Regions from separate parts of the Homo sapiens genome. Here region 1 is linked to region 2. The links are contacts of gene promoters, found by promoter capture Hi-C in human tissues and cell types (Jung and others, 2019). All regions are on one chromosome and are shown on one strand. The core of a region is centred on a gene start or on the middle of the fragment in contact, and the rest is flanking DNA. Distances in the headings are between cores, read along the strand shown. Region 1 overlaps LINC02105 (long intergenic non-protein coding RNA 2105). Region 2 holds the start of FST (follistatin).

Region 1 (2,974 bases), core at 128-2,627, 310 kb after region 2:
CCCCGCCTTCTGCTCCCAGCTTCCTCCAGTATTGAAAAGCAGTGGAGCCAGTGAAGATCTGTTCCTGGCCGTGAAAAGAATCCCCTATATCCTAAGAGATCAGCTCAGCAATGAAGGGGTTACTCTCCTTGGTGTGGGGGTGGGGGGTGTAGAAAGTTGCGGGACACTCTTCTCAGCTTGTCTGATGGAGATGCGACCTGGCACCACTGAAAAGCTTTAAGATTAATGGAGAAAAGGCGAAATCTGACAGCTTTTCCACTGGTTTCAATCCTCCTGGGTGGGCCGATTGGTCTTGAATGTCACTAGCTACTTAATCTTGTGTATCTGAAACAGACTGGCGTGTTTGGGGAGCCCTGTTTGCTCTGTATAGACATCAATTGGAGAGGCAGATAAAAGGAAACTGCATTGAATTTCTCCTTTAAGCCTTTCACCAGGCACTTTCTGACTGCAAAATAATTAGTGACCCTGGCAGACACAACCATCCTGTGGTAGATGCTCCAGCTACACCCCTGGTGCGACTCTGACTTCCCTGGACAAGCTGCTCCTGCTCTGTTCAGTGCAGACTCATGGTGCCTATATATTCTTCCTGCTCACCAACTTTTTTTTTTTTTTTTTTTTAACTGCATGGTCTTGCTTACCATTCTGAACCATGGATGCCTGCTTGATCTGATGGCTGAGCAAAGGGATCTCCAGAGACACAGATCTACAAGCACAAATGTGGACAGGGAAATAGAAAGACAAAATAAATAAATAAATAAATCCCTAAATGTACCCATTTACCTGCATATATGTCTCAAACAAATAGGGTTGAGCTATTTTTTAATAACCAAAACATCTACCCAGGAATGGAAATTTAAAAATCAAATGATGCTTTCTATATCCTGTTTTTTCAAACTGAATACATAAAAGAAGCCATTCAGGTTAAGTGTCAAGCATTAAAAGAGAAAGAATAAATACAACAGTGTTTGCAGAGGAGGTTACAATAGATTGGCTCCTTATATTTAAAAGATAGGAATGTTTGGTGATTACTGTGTGAAATAACTCTGTCTAGTCTGGTTTGCTCTGGTGTGAGAAGTCTCTGATGTGTTTTACACACACATAGTGGTTTATGAAGAACCTGTCATAAACCTAAACGATAGCACCAATTAGAAATGAGCTTCCATTGATATATTTCAGATCATTTGCCCTTACCCTTTTCTGACTTTCTGATTCTTTAAACTCATGAACATGGTTGAGTGTATCATCGGGTGATGAATAGCTAGAGATGACTGAGGCCAACAGACTATATATTAATCGTCCTTAGCCTAGCATCTGGGAATCCATAAAACTCTCTGTACTTTCAAACACAAGAGAAAGCCACATTCTCTGATGTCTGAAACTTGCCACTTACAAGCACACACAGGTCTATGCAGGGCATCTTCCTGCAATGTGCTTTTGGCTATTACGAAAACTTTCTTTAAGGCAGAACACTTTCCAGTAAACATATACAAAATTCATCATAAACCAGACTAATTCTTCTGTCTACCAAAGGGAGATGGAAGACATAAACTAAGTCCAACACCACAGCAAGGTATCACAGGTCTCTATTATAACTTTGAAATAGCACCAGATATCTGGCTGTTTTTAAATTGCCAGTTTCTCCTCTGTGGTCAAGGACGTCTGCCAAAAAGAAGATACAGGAAGTTACTGATGGGCCGTAAAATGGAAAATGAAGTGAAAAATTAGTCTTCACTATACCAAAGCAACCTCATTTCAATTATCATTGCAAATATAGGTTATACTTTATTTTGTGACTTACTTTCTCTCTTAAAGATACAGCATCACATTGTTGAGACCGCCACTGCAAAATTATAATTGAGGCAGTGAAAGAGATCTGAACTAACCAACTCTACCTTGCTTCTAAACTCCAAGCTGTCATTGTTCATTCCTGGCTATAGGCCAAACTAACTCTGGGAGAAACTTAGTTTAGGTTTAGCTTTGAAACAAAGATGTTAACAGCCCTTTCCCAAAACAAACCCCCTTTCTGCCTGAGGACTAGACTGCCTTTGCAGGACTAACAAATTAGCTAAAAGATTAGAAATTATGATTTAGGAGTCACGCAGCTGGAGGCTACAAAATTCTGAATCTCCCCAAATTGCTCCTGGGGATAATATCACTATTGTAAAACTTAAGATCAGTGCTTGAGATATTTTGCAGACCCTGCACTTGATGGATCAACTGGCACCACACAGACTGATAAACTGGCTCATCTGGTCTTGTGACCCTGACCCAGGAACTGACTCAGTGCAAGAGGACAGCTTCAACTCCTTATGAGTTCATCTCAGACCTGACCAATCAGAATTCCCGATTCACTGACCCACCTACTCACCAAATTATCCTGAAAAACTCTGATCCCCAAGTTCTCAGTAAGACTGACTTGAGTAATAATAAAACTCCAGTCTCCCGCACAGCTTGCTCTGTGAATTACTCTTTCTCTTTTGCAATTCCCCTGTCTTCATAAATCAGCTCTCTCTAGGCAGCAGGCAAGGTGAACATGTTGGGCGGTTACATTATGTCAAAGCCTAAGACTAGAGTTGACTGAAGTGATGTTGAGGAGATTGAAGCCAGTCTGCATGGCAGGAGAGAGGAGATGCTTCTCCATTTCTACCAAATGTGACTGGCTGTGCTCTCAGGGGACTACGAAGTAGTTGGCCAGAGAGCATACTGAGTACAGATTTCATGAACAGGTAGGTACTGGGTATATGTTTCATGAACATCAAGAAGTACAAGAGAAGGAAGGAAACTCATACAAATACAAGGAACTAAAATGGGAGAGACTACTAGACAGAAAGGGTCATTTTTCCTGGGAATTGGCTGTGGACATTTTTCAACCTTGTTTGAGATATCTGAAACAATGCCTCTCCTCTTCCAGGTTAAAAAAAGAAAAGAAAATATGTGTAGCTATAAACAAAAAACAGGTGAGTGCACAGAGAAG
Region 2 (2,976 bases), core at 146-2,645:
AGTTGCAGGGGGGGAAGAAGGGCAGATTTGAAATTCGTAGAACAAATCCCAGTGACCTGCGAATGTCCAAGAATTTTGTCTGCATACTTCGCTATCTGTTGTCCTTCGGGCTTCAGATGCGAAAAGAACAAATTTAAAAGGCAGCTTTGGAATAAACAATATAGCATTTTCCGTGAAGTAATCGTTTTATATAAAAGGAAATATCGCCTCCTCAGTTTCATTCAGCGGTGCCAAAAATGTTATAAATGAGAGACCCGCCAACTTTCAGCGAAGAATGCCAGGCACTGTACTTAATAAACTGAGGCTACAGAAGTTCATTATGGATGTTGCAATCTTTTTTATTCCGCGAAAAGAGAGAAGACGAGACAGAAAGAGAGAGAGATTGGAGCCGAGGAGACTGAGAGACAGACAGAGGCACACAGGACAGAAACTGGGGAGTCTCCAGGCGGGAGAGGAAGGGGGGGCCAGACCGCCTACGTCGGCGCCCCCGCTCCGGGCTCCGACTCCAGACGCCGCGAAGTGAAAGGGGAGAAAAGAAAGGGAGAGGGCGAGGCTGTGCCGCGGGGAGACCGGGCCTGAGGTGTTAAACATTTTTGTTTGCTTCCGACTAGTCCAGACGAAGGGCCGCGTCTCGGTAGCGCTCTGCCAGGGTGGAAGGTGCCGGGGCCGGGGTTCCTAGCAACACCTCTGGGCTGGGGGTGGCTGCAAAGTCAGGCACTCACAGACCCAGACACAAAACCTCGCGGGTCCCGCGCCCAGGCTGCGGGTGCCCGGAACCGCCGCGAGGCCGGCGCGCTCCGACCCGACCCGGGGCGGGATATTTGGGCAGCCCGGGGCTCTTCGGCCGTTTGCAAAAGTCTCTTTGGAGCGGAGGAGAGGCAGCACGGAGACAAACTCCCGGGTTCCCCCCGCCACCGCCTCCAGCGCCCCCACCGCGCCCTCCCTCTCACACTCGCGCGCGCGCGCACACACACTCACACACACACTCACACACACACCCGCCACCCCGGGCGCGCCGGCGCTGCCGGCGAGCGGCGGCGAGCAGGACTTGAAGTGGGTGTTCTTCCCCACTCCCCACCCCCGACGCGTAGCCCCCAACCCCCGCCCCGGTCGCCTTCCCCCTCCCTCTCGCTCCTACGCAAATAAGAACTCGACGATTCCCTTCCAGCCGTTTTGATTTCGGGCACCTCCGAAAGATAATTGGGAAGGGTTTCCAGAAGGTGGGAAATGTCACCTGATTCACACTGAACTTTTGAAAGCTCCCCACCCCCAAGGAGCCGCGCACACCCTCGCTCGCGGCCGCCCTCCCACAGCCCCACACACTGGGAGACCGCCCACCGCAAACCGCGGAGACCCCCGTCTAGATTTAAAGCGCGGCTGCGCCCGGCTTCTGACGTCCATTGAATCGCGCGGGCGGCCGGCGGCGAGCGCGGGGCTGCGCCGGGATCGCTGCGCCCTCCGCCGCTGGCCTCTGCGACGCGCGCCGCTCGCCCGAGCCACCCGCCGCCGCGCCGGCTCCCCGCGCCGCTGCGCTCCTCGCCCCGCGCCTGCCCCCAGGATGGTCCGCGCGAGGCACCAGCCGGGTGGGCTTTGCCTCCTGCTGCTGCTGCTCTGCCAGTTCATGGAGGACCGCAGTGCCCAGGGTAAGCGAGTGGGGATGCGCTGGGGAGGCTTGGCTGAGGACAGGGGGGTCGACTTTTCTGTGGTCTCCACTTGGTCTGTTCTGAGCAACGCTGCTCTCGGAAGATGTTGAACCAACTTGGGGACTCCGGGATGGAGAGGAGTGGGAAAATTGTAGGCAATGACACTTTAGGACTGGGAACTGAGTTTGGAGCTCGGTTATCTTGAAAAAGGAAAGGGAGCGAGCTGGGGTCTTAGTAGTTAGGGTTAAATGCTCCAAGTTCTGGCCATGATAACTTTAGATGTGATCTCCTCTGTTTGGCTCTGAAGAAGGGAACAAGTATCAGTAGTAGCCTGGAGATTTCAGTCGACCCATTTGCAGTCTCATCTCTCTCCCTCCCACATCTTTTGGATACTTAAAAAAAAAAAAGGAAAGAAAGAAAAGAAAACCTGGGGGTTTGGGGGAGAGATACTGAATTTTATTTGGTGGCTGGGGGACGTGGTTTCAGAAACTTTGCCCAAACTTGGAAATGTGGGTGCTGAAGATTTTCAAGGGAAGTAGCTTTCTGCCTAGTGGATGCTTCTTCCAACCCCATCCCCCATTCTCGCAAAAAAAAAAAAAAAAAAAAAAAAGCCAAATTATTACCCCAAAGTGCTTTGAGCACTTTACAGTTTTTTTCCCCTCTGCCTCATTCTTCTTTCTGACCCTTAGCTTTCTGTAAAACAGTGAGCAGCCCATAACTGACTTAAATTCTGAAATGGGTTAAGAGCAAATTTCTGAAGCTTGCCTTTTAAAAATAGATTTGTTTATTTCAATTAGTCTTTGGGCAGAATGTTTAAAATAATAATAGCAGCTTGCGATCCAATGATTGTTAAAGTCATATTGGTGATTCATGAGAAGTCTTCTCGACCCAAATCCGAACATTAAAAAGGGGGAAGAGGGAGAAATCACTTGCAAATATTTCTTGCTAGGTATGAGATAGGTACTTATAACCGTGAAATGGTAGGAAGACTCCCCCCTCCCCCCACCTTAAGGCATTACTTTCCCTGCTTCAGCGTTAACATTTTAAGTATGTTGTAAACTGCCCTCCTGGGCACTGCCCCTCGCCGTCTGCATGGCACTGCGCTGGGTTGCCCGCCTTTAGAGGAGAGGCTCTGCCTGGTGCCCGGACGTGGGCGCGGAGGAAAGCAGCCCTCGGAGATTTCGAAAGATCGCGGTGGCCGCGGGCGTGCTCCGGTCTGGCGGATTGCAAAACGGGCCCGTCGGGCTGGCTGCGCCTGGAGGCCGCGCGGGGTAGCTCCGGGCTGGGCCGGGTTGCTTTTTTGCTTTCATTTTTCAGAAGTGCCTTTTGCTTG

What was found. Contacts are between HindIII fragments. The study calls those that stand out against the background at their distance.
Region 1: a fragment that was not itself captured here is called in contact with the fragment with the promoter of FST in region 2 in 1 of the 25 tissues and cell types used here (spleen).

What each region holds. Positions count from the first base shown.
Region 1 is chr5:53,784,442-53,787,415 of GRCh38, forward strand. It overlaps LINC02105 (long intergenic non-protein coding RNA 2105), which reads right to left. Exons shown (of 4, transcript NR_147168.1): 2 at 639-703. Among named protein-coding and RNA genes, the nearest start is that of LINC02105, 34 kb to the right of the region's middle. The HindIII fragment of the contact is 6,838 bases long and covers 1-2,974 here.
Region 2 is chr5:53,479,234-53,482,209 of GRCh38, forward strand. It overlaps FST (follistatin), which reads left to right and starts at 1,396. Exons shown (of 6, transcript NM_013409.3): 1 at 1,396-1,643. The coding sequence starts at 1,559. RefSeq lists an enhancer at 2,629-2,698. The HindIII fragment of the contact is 11,038 bases long and covers 1-2,976 here.